Linked DNA regions of Homo sapiens: region 1 is linked to region 2. The links are contacts of gene promoters, found by promoter capture Hi-C in human tissues and cell types (Jung and others, 2019). All regions are on one chromosome and are shown on one strand. Each heading gives the region's core, a stretch centred on a gene start or on the middle of the fragment in contact. The rest is flanking DNA. Distances are from core to core; before and after follow the strand shown. Region 1 has its middle 53 kb from the start of LINC02000. Region 2 holds the start of RAB6B (RAB6B, member RAS oncogene family).

Region 1 (4,612 bases), core at 722-3,221, 210 kb after region 2:
TTAAGGGGTGTGTGTGTGTGTGTGTGTGTGTGTGTGTGTGTGTGTAACAGACACAGACATAAAGACAGAAACAGAGATTAAGGGGTGGAGATAAGAAATGGAAATAGATTCCCAAGATAGCTAGGTAGCAAGAAACATTTGAAGAGATAGCATGTATTTGGGAAAGACAACACACACACACACACACACACACACACACACACACACACACACACAGATGGAGAGAGAGAGAGAAAGAGAGCGCTTTACTATGTTGATATCCACAAGTCAAAGACCACCAGGAGCACAGGTTTCGTTGAACAAAATTATTGGTCTTTGTTGCAACAAGGGAGACCACATACCATGGGGAACTTTGGGGTGTTGCCCTTGTTGCAATAAGTACCAATAAACCAAACTTTGTTTGACGACAAGCCTATTTCTGTTGGTCTTTGGCTGGTAGGCATCAACAACTGTAATGAGATATTAATAATCATGATAAATGTAACTGGGATAAATTCACCTATTTTAAAAAGGCTATTGGGTTACATTTTTAAAATTAAAATTACATAGTTTTGAAAACATAGCCTGCTAAAACAATCAAGGATAGGTAAAGATATAACATGCAAACGCTAAGAGGAAGGCAAGTATAGCATTATTAGTATCAGTCAAAACAGTAAAAATCACAAACTGGGGCAGAGGAGGATATTTGATAAGAGGTATAATAAGAGGTACTTGATAAGAAGTACAATAAAAGGATTATACCCCTTATTAATAAGAAAACATGGCAGTCATAAACCTTTATGCACCAAACATGTTTTGCAATACGTGAAATAAAAACTGGCAGGTATAAAAGGCCAAATTTACATATCTATTATCATAGTGATAATAGATATGTCCCAAAAATCTGAGTCCCAAAAATATTCCTCAGTTTCTCTTAGAAACTGGTCAATCATGTGGTTGAAAATTATAAATAATAATATAGAGAATTTAAAAAGCAAAATTAAGAAGCTTAGTACAAAAGATAAAGTTAGAACTTTGTACTCAAAAAACAGAATACACATAGAACTTCCACAAAAGCTTACCAGGTAATAGGCCACAAAGGAAATCTCCAAAAGTTCTCAGAATAAGAAACACATATGCCATATTTGCTAACCATAATTCAGTATAATTAGAAAATAGTAATCACACAGACAAACACACACACACGCCTACTTGAAAATAATTCAATTTTCTTTTCTTTTCTTTTTTATTTTTATTTTTTAAGACTGTCTCGTTCTGTCACCCAGGCTGGAGTGCAGTGGCACAATCTCGGCTCACTGCAACCTCTGCCTCCCAGGTTCAAGGGATTCTCCTGCCTCAGCCTCCCAAGTAGCTGGGACTACAGGCACGTGGCACCACACCTGGATAATGTTTTGTATTTTTAGTAGAGACAGGGTTTCACCATGTTAGCCAGGATAGTCTCGATTTCCTGACCTCGTGATCTGCCTGCCTCCGCCTCCCAAAGTGCTGGGATGACAGGCATGAGACACCGCGCCCAGCCAAGAATTCAATTTCCTAAATTATTTGAGGTTTATAAGAACATTCAATCAAAGTCATACCTTAAACTATTTAGAAATGAGGAAAGTGACATCAGCAAGATGATAGGCTAGGAAGCTACAGACCCTCTTTCCCACACAGATATACTGAGTTATCAACAATATATGAAACAGAATACCTCTGTGAGAACTCCAGAGACCAACTGAAAAGCTACAGCACCCACGCCATTGTAAAACCAAAAAGGGATTCCAGTGAAAGCTGTAGGAAATTTGCAGTGTTTGGTGGGCTATTCATGCCCTTCCCCCTGCATAGCACAGAGCAAGCAGGAGGAATCCCCCTCAACTGTCACCATACAAGAGCTCCTCCCTTAGAATAAAAACAAAAGATCAGGGCTGGGTATGGTGGCTCAAGCCTGTAATCCCAGCACTTTGGGAGGCTGAGGCGGGCAGATCATTTGAGGTCAGGAGTTTGAGACCAGCCTGACCAACATGGTGAAACCCCATCTCTACTAAAAATACAAAAAAATTAGCCAGGTGTGGTGGCATACTCCTGTAGTCTCAGCTACTTGGGAGGCTGAGGCAGGAGAATCGCTTGAACAGAAGAGGCGGAGGCTGCAGTGAGCCGAGATCAAGCCACTGCACTCCAGCCTGGGTGACAGAGCGAGACTCCATCTGAAAAAAAAAAAAAAATAGATCAGAACATATGTCCAATATTATAGCTTTTCTGGGCCTGCCCAAGGGACTGGTTTCTGTCTCACCTGACTCAGAGTGCTGACAAACTGGAGCAAGATTTTGGAAACCACTGTAAACAGAGGCAAGCATCACATTAGAGCTATAGCTCTACAGGTAGATACCAGGAATAGCAAGAGATCAGAAATTATTTGAGAGGTCCAGCTGGGCTGAATGATGAAGACCTTCCTCTGCCTAATGCTGATACAAAGCCTGGAAGAGGTGTTTGTTTTTTTTAAATGCCCAAATCTCAGCAAAAAATTACAAGACACACAAAGAAACAGGGAAACATGGCCCAATCAAAGTAACAAAATAAACCTCCCCCAAAAAGCCTAAAGGAAAGCACATCTATGAGTTGCCTGACAAAGAATTTATAATGACTGTCATATACAGAACATTTACCCAACAAAAACAGAATATACATTATTCTCAAGTGTACATAGAACATTCTCCAACATAGATCACGTAATAGGCCACAAAACAAATCTTAACAAATTCAAGAAGGTTGAAATCACACAAGATATCTTTTTAAACACAACGGAATGAAACTAGAAGTCAATAGAACAAGGAAAACAGTAAGTCCACAAATGTGAAAATTCACACACTCTTAAACAACCAATGTGTCAAAGACAAGGTCAAAAGAGAAATTAGAAACTATTAAAAATAAGAACACAACATACCAACACTTATGGAATGCAGTGAAAGTGCTATGAGGGAATTTCATAGCTGTAAACATGTATATTAAAAAGAAGAAAGATCTCAATTCAGAAAGCCTAATTATATACCTTAAGAAACTAAAATGAAGAACACACTAAACCCAAAGCCAGCAAAGGAAGAAAATGAGTTGGTTTTTTGAAAGATCAACAAAATTGACAAAACTTAACTAGATTAAGAAAAAGAGAGAAGACTCAAATCACTAAAATCAGAAGTTAAAGGGAGACATTACAACCATTGCCACAGAAATAAAAAAAAAATTATTGGGAATATTATGAACAATTATACACTAAGAAATTGGATAACCTAGAAGAAATGGATAAATTCCTAGAAACACACAAACCACCAAGACAGAATCATAAAGAAACAAAATTTAATCAGACCAATAAAGAATAAAGAGATTAAATGAGTAAATCAAAAAACTCCCAAAACTTCCCAATACCAGATGGCTTCAGTGAAGAATTCTAGCAAACATTTAAAGAATTGGCATCAATCCTCTGGAAACTCTTTCAATGAATTGAAGAGGGAGGAACTCTTACAAGCTCATTCTATAAAGCCAGCAGTAACCTGATACCAAAGTCAGACAAAGACACTATGAGAAAACTACGGATCACTATCCCCGATGAATATTGTTGCAAAAATCCTTGGCAAATACTATCAAACTGAACACAACAGCACATTAAAATGATCATATGCCATGATTAAGTGGGATTTATCACTGAGATGGAAGGATGGTTTAACACATACCAATCAATAAATGTGATGCACCATATTAGCAGAATGAAGGATAAAATCATATGATCATCTCAATAGTTGCAGAAAAAGCATTTGAAAATATTTAATATCCTTTCATGATTCAAATAATTCACCAAACTAGGAATAAAAGGAAAATACCTCAACATAATAAAGGGCATTTATGAAAAACTCACAGTAAACATCATACCCAATGGCAAAAGACTAGAAGTTTTTCCTCTAACATCAGGAAAAAGACAAAGGTGCCCACTCTCACGACTTCTATTTGACATAGTATGAGAAGTCATCTCCAGAACAATTAGATAAGAAAAAGAAAAATGGCATCCAAATTGGAAAGGAAGAAGTTAAACTGTCTGTTTGCAGATGATATGATATTATATGCAAAAAACCTGAAAGATTCCACTAAAAAAATCTATTAGAACTAGTAAGCTAATTCAGCAAAGTTCCAGGATACAAAATCAACATACAAAAATCAGTTGTGTTTCTATACACTAATAATGAACAATCCAAAAGGAAATTAAGCAAACCATTCCATTTACAATGGCATCAAAAAGAATAAAATACTTAGAAATAAGCCTAAGCAAGGAGGTGAAAGACTTATACACTAAAAATTACAAAACATTGCTGAAAGAAATTAAAGAAAACACAAATAAATGAAAAACATCTTACGTTTTTGGGTAGGAAAACTTAATTTTTAAAAAATGTCCACACTACCCAAAGCGATCTACAGACTCAAAACAAATCTTATCAAAGTCCCAATAGTTTTGTTTTTACAGATATATAAAACATTATCCTAAAATTCATACAGAATCTCAAGGAACCCTGAATAGCCAAAAGAATTTTGAAAAAGGAAAAAAAAAAAGTTGGAGCACTCACACTTCCTGATTTCAAACTATGACAAA
Region 2 (5,275 bases), core at 1-2,500:
GGTGCCCCTGTATCATTCCCCAAATCGCCTCGAGTTGGGGTAGCCCTCACTGCAATTGCCCAGATCCCTGGGCAGCAAGGAGACTAACAAGCGCCGGCGAAGGGCAGCGGGTCTAGAACCTTCTGTGCCCAGTCGGACGTGAGCCAGGGGAGGTAGGCTCCCCGTTCCCCCATGGCCTGCACTCGCTCTTTCGAGCAGAGACAGGTGTCGCTCTTTTCTCCCCGGTGGCTGTTTGTCCCACGCCCTGGACGTGCCCTTTCGCATGGTTCCCAGCAGGGTCCGCAGGGAACACCCCTCCAGTGCAGCGGAGTGAGGCCCGGCCAGACCCCAGCTTCGCTTCGTTCTCCAAGGGGGGCGCCCGTCGCTCTCCCCACCCCCGCCAGCACCCAGCCACCTGCGCGGTCGCCCGCAGCCGGTGCCGCAGTGTGAGCTAGCCAGCGAGCCCGGTTCCTTCACGCCCTGGCCAGCGCCGCGGAGCCAGCCGCCGCCCTCCGGGCCCCCTGCAGCGCCGCACCTGCACCCACACCCCGGGCCCCCCACCCAGAGCCCACCCTCACCTCCACCCCAGGCTCCAGCGCCTCCTCCGTCCTCACCCTTGGCCCCTCCCCAGCCCGACCCCGCCCCGACCTCCCCATCCCTGTCCCTCTCCTCTACCCTGGCAAGGAGGGGCCTTTCCGAGCCTGGGCCGGGGGTCCCAATGGGGTGGGCGATTGGGCGGCGGGGGTCGACTCGGCGACAAGCCAAGAGATTAAGCCGGGTACTTACCGCTCTGCTCCCCCAAGAACACCAACTTGAATTTTCTCAGTGGATTCCCAAAATCTCCCCCTGCGGACATGGTGCTGGCAGCCGGGGCCGGGAGAGGAGGAGGAGGAAAAAGCGAAGGAGCAGGGAGGGGAGAGTAGGAGGGCGAGGGGAGGCGGCCGGCGGTGCGGGAGCCGGAGGGGGAAGGGCTGGCTGCGCGCGTCCCTGACTCCCCAGCTGCGTCCCGGTCCCGGCCTGCGGCTGCGTGTCCGGCGGCGGAGGAGGAGGAGGAGAGAGAGGCGGAGGCGGAGGAAGGCTGGGGCTGGGCTGCTGCGGTCGGCACTGGCTGCGGTGCGAGGGGCGCGCTCTTTACGCCCGAGGCGCGGCGCTGGGAGAGAGGCGCGGGCGGAGCGGGGCGCAGGGACGGCGCGCGGGGCGGAGGAGCGCTCTCCAGAGCCGCGCCAGTCGGCCCCCTCCCGCCTGCCTCCTCCGCCGGCGCCTGCGCTCTGTGCGCTCCCCAGCCTCTGATGTCATGCGGGGCCCGCGGGGCTGCGGGGCTGGGGGGCGTGCGCCCGCCCACCCGAGCCCGCACCCGGGCAGGAGAGAACCTCCTCGCCGTACCCCTGAGAGCCCCCCGGGGGGGACCGTGTCTCGCTGCCCCGCTGCGTCTGTCTTCCCCACTCTACCCCTCTTTTGAATCCAGAAAATGACAGAAATTGTCAGGGGACATTTGTTTCTGGTCTTTTAAACCTAGATGCCAGTCCCTTCCTCCACCTCGCGAGACACCGATGCACAGCGCAGTCGTCCGACCGACAGGGCGGAAAGGAACGAAGGTGGGGGAGAGCCAGGGTGTGGCGAGGCCCGTCAGGGCGGTCAGACCTAGGGAAACCTGGCGTACTTGGCGCAGATGGGGCTCGACTCTTGCCCCCCGTGGCTTCTAGCCCGCCCTTCCCTCTCGAGGCCTAGACCCTTTATTTGGGCGGCCTCTTGTGGAGTCTGTGGGTGCCCCCGCAGACCTGGCCAGCGAGAGAGGAGCTGCCAATATCAGGCGCGCCTACCTCAAACCAGCTGCTCATTTGGATCATTTTATGCCAAATCCTAACCTGCCCCATGGGAGAGAAGGAACGGTGACGCTCTGAATGCCAGTGCCACTATCTCCAGGACAGTGCCCTGCGTTTCTTGATCCCGGGGTCGCCAGGCTGACAATGCCACTCCCCACCCTGGCAATTAGGTGTATCTGGACAATGAGCTATCTGAGGACATGTGGGCGACCTCTCCTTGGCCTCTACTTGCCTGGTCCATCGAGGCACACAGACCAAGTTGTGAGTGAGTGAGAGCAAAGAGCAGACGCCAAGTGCTAGAAACACTCCCAAGACAGCCCGAGCCTAAGGCATGCTGGTTAATTGAGGTTTTACAAAGCTGTCCCTTACTGTTCTGCCACAGCGTGGTCTTGTTCATTTATGGCTGTTCAGTGAGCATTTATTTGAGATAATAATCTGCATGTCGGTGAACACGATGGTGTGTGCACGCATGTGTTATAGAAAGAGAAAGAGGAGTGAGACACAACCTTCACCTCCAGATTTCTCGTGGACACTTGTTACCCCCTTTTTGACTTATGGGGCTTGCTTGGGCAAGCCTATCTGTCTCCCTGGTGTGCTCACCTCGAATCTCTTTCCTATTTCTTGTTAGAAACCTGACCACAAGTTCCATAAAAGCAGTAGTTGAAGCTCCACCACTGCATCCCAAGGACATAGCTCAGAGTTTAAGAAATAGTTGTTGAATGTTTGAATGAACATCTAGAACTCAAATCAAAATAACTGTCCTATTCTCATAATTACCTTTAGTTTGGAACCCCAGGGATTGTAAGTCATCACCTAGAATATCTGCCCCGTTGTGGCTGGCACCAGGCTCAGGGTAACCCTCCAGACACCCACCCACTTCTCTGGGGCTCCTGCTCTCTTAGGAGACCATATCCAGCTTGGGGTTGAAGAAAGCTCTGAAAGGAGAGGAGACTCCCAAGTCACAGCCCTTCCCGTCTCTATAAGTGATCCCTCCAAAGAAGGGCCAGTGAGCTACTGGCCAAGGTACCCAGCCATGCAACACTCCTCCAACCTGCACCTTCTCCTAACATCTAGTGCTGTCTCCCTGTACCCTCTCATCCTGACCTGATGAGATCATCGGTGGCAAGACAAAACAGCTGAGGTGTGCCAGAAAAGGCACCATCTTTTGGGTAAGCCTAGGCAGGTCCTGTACCTCCTCTGATCATCTGGTCCCGCACATGTAAGGTGGTATGGCAGTAGGGGAGGGAGGGCTGGGGCAGGGCCCCTCTGGGCACCTCTAAGCCTCCAAGTCATCCCATATGCTTACCAGGTCCAGCTGGGCTGACTATGGTCCAGCTTACTTTGGGGGACTCTGTCATAATTCTTCCAGTTCAAATGACAAAAACCCGGCTCCGACTACCGGGCTCACGTCGCTGGAGCAGATACTGGCATTGCTCTCAGAATGCAGTCATCATGCTGTGGAAATGAGAGCCTTAGAGACTCCAAGTTTGCTCTGCTCCAAGTCTCTCTCCTCCAACTATCATTGCTTATCTCCCCTGATTTTGAGTCTTGTCCTTAACCTGCCCTAAAGCAGACAGACTTTCTCCAGGTGGAAAATGGGGCCACTGAACCTCAGCCTGGCAACCTCACTAGAAAGAGTTTCTTCCATATCATAGAATCTGTGCATTCCATTTAAAAAAATTCTTTAAATCTTCCTATTTAGTATGTGCTGTGTATATGTAAGTTACAAAGAAAACCTATCACTCTGAGTGCCCATTTACCCTCTACACAGCTGGAGGGCTCAAATATTATAGTACTTTTCAGGCCCCCAGGTGCTTTCTTCTCCTTCCTCCCTCCCCAACTTGGAAATCCAGAATCTTAGCTTTTCTTTGAGTTTTATCACATTGGATGTGTCCTTCACAATACTTTGTTTTGTTTTGCATCTTTTGAATCTTATATAAGGTATCAAACTGTGTTTTCTGTCCTGACTTGCATGTTTCTTAACATCATGTTTCTGAGATCCATTTGTTAATTCATGTAGCAGCAGTTCTTTCATTTTCACTGCTGGTTAGTATTCTAGTTATGCCCCAATTTTTAAATGATTTTCTGTAAAATGTGTCATTTAAAATTTTTATTTTATTTTATTTTATTATTGTTGTTATTATTTTTGAGATGGAGTCTTGGTCTGTCACCAGGCTGGAGTGTAGCGGCGCCATCTCGGCTCACTGTAACCTCCGCCTCCCAGGTTCAAGCAATTCACCTGCCTCAGCCTCCCGAGTAGCTGGTACTACAGCCACGCACCACCAGGTCTAGCTAATTTTTTTATTTTTAGTAGAGCCGAGGTTTCACCATGTTGACCAGAATGGTCTCAATCTCTTAACCTCGTGATCCGCCTGCATCAGCCTCCCAAAGTGCTGGGATTACAGGTGTGAGCCACCACGCCTGGCCTTTTTTAAAATTATTTTAAATAATTTTATACTCACATAGAGGTTATAAAAAACAGTGCAGGGAGTTACTATGTATCCTGCACCAAGCTACCCCAGTGATAACATCTTACATAACCACATTGCTTAGTAAAACCAGGAAATTAACATTGGAAAATGCACTCAGTTTTGTTTCTGCTATTAACAAACAATGCTGCCATCAACATTCTTTACATGTCTCTTGATGCCTCTGTGAAGTTTTTCTAAGATATGTGTCAGTAGGTAAATTGTGGTATAAAAACAAGTGTACGTTTAATTTTGTGCCAAACTATTTTTCAAAGATATTCGTTAGATCATATAGCACTACAGCATCATCTATATTTTTCATTTTCTTCAAGATCTTGGTTTTCCTGAGCCCTTTGCTGTGTTATATATATATATATATATATTTAAATTAAATTTTTGAGATCATTGTAGATTCACAAACAGGAAAAAAAAAAAAGACAGATCTGTATATCCTTTATCTAGTTTTCACCAAGAGTAAGATCTTGCAGAACTTTATACTACAGTATCATAATGTGGATACTGGAATTAAGACAGTCAAGGTACATTTCTGTTCTGTACCTTGACACACAAAGAGCCCTCATGTTCCCCTTTTATAGCCACACCCACTTTCCTCCCACCCTCAACCCCTTCCTAACCTCTGGCAACCACTAATCTGTTCTTCATTTCAATAAATGTGTTATTTCAAGAATCTTATATAAGTGGCATTACACAGTATATCACCCTTTGGGATTGTTTTTTTCACTTCACCTGGCTGGAGCACTCAAATATTACAGTACTTTTGAGGCCCTCAGGTGTTTCTGCCCCTCCCTCTCTCCCCAGCTTGAAAATCCAGAACTGTGGCTTTTCTTTGAGTTTTTATCACATTTGGATGTGTCCTCCAACAATACTTTTTTGTTTTGCATCTTTTGAATTTTATATAATGTCTCAAACTGTATATTCTGTCCTATGACTTGCATTTTTCTTAACATTATGTTCCTGAGATCCATCTGTTGATTCATGTAGCAG

The links. The method cuts DNA at HindIII sites, captures the fragments that hold promoters and counts their contacts. A contact is called where the count stands out against the background at its distance.
Region 1: a contact is called between a fragment that was not itself captured here and the fragment with the promoter of RAB6B in region 2, in 2 of the 25 tissues and cell types used here (IMR-90 fibroblasts and aorta).

The regions. Positions count from the first base shown.
Region 1 is chr3:134,108,346-134,112,957 of GRCh38, forward strand. No RefSeq gene overlaps it. Among named protein-coding and RNA genes, the nearest start is that of LINC02000, 53 kb to the left of the region's middle. The HindIII fragment of the contact is 6,872 bases long and covers 1-4,612 here.
Region 2 is chr3:133,894,632-133,899,906 of GRCh38, forward strand. RAB6B (RAB6B, member RAS oncogene family) reads right to left here and starts at 1,251. Exons shown (of 8, transcript NM_016577.4): 1 at 766-1,251. The coding sequence starts at 835. RefSeq lists a silencer at 1,221-1,270. The HindIII fragment of the contact is 14,643 bases long and covers 1-5,275 here.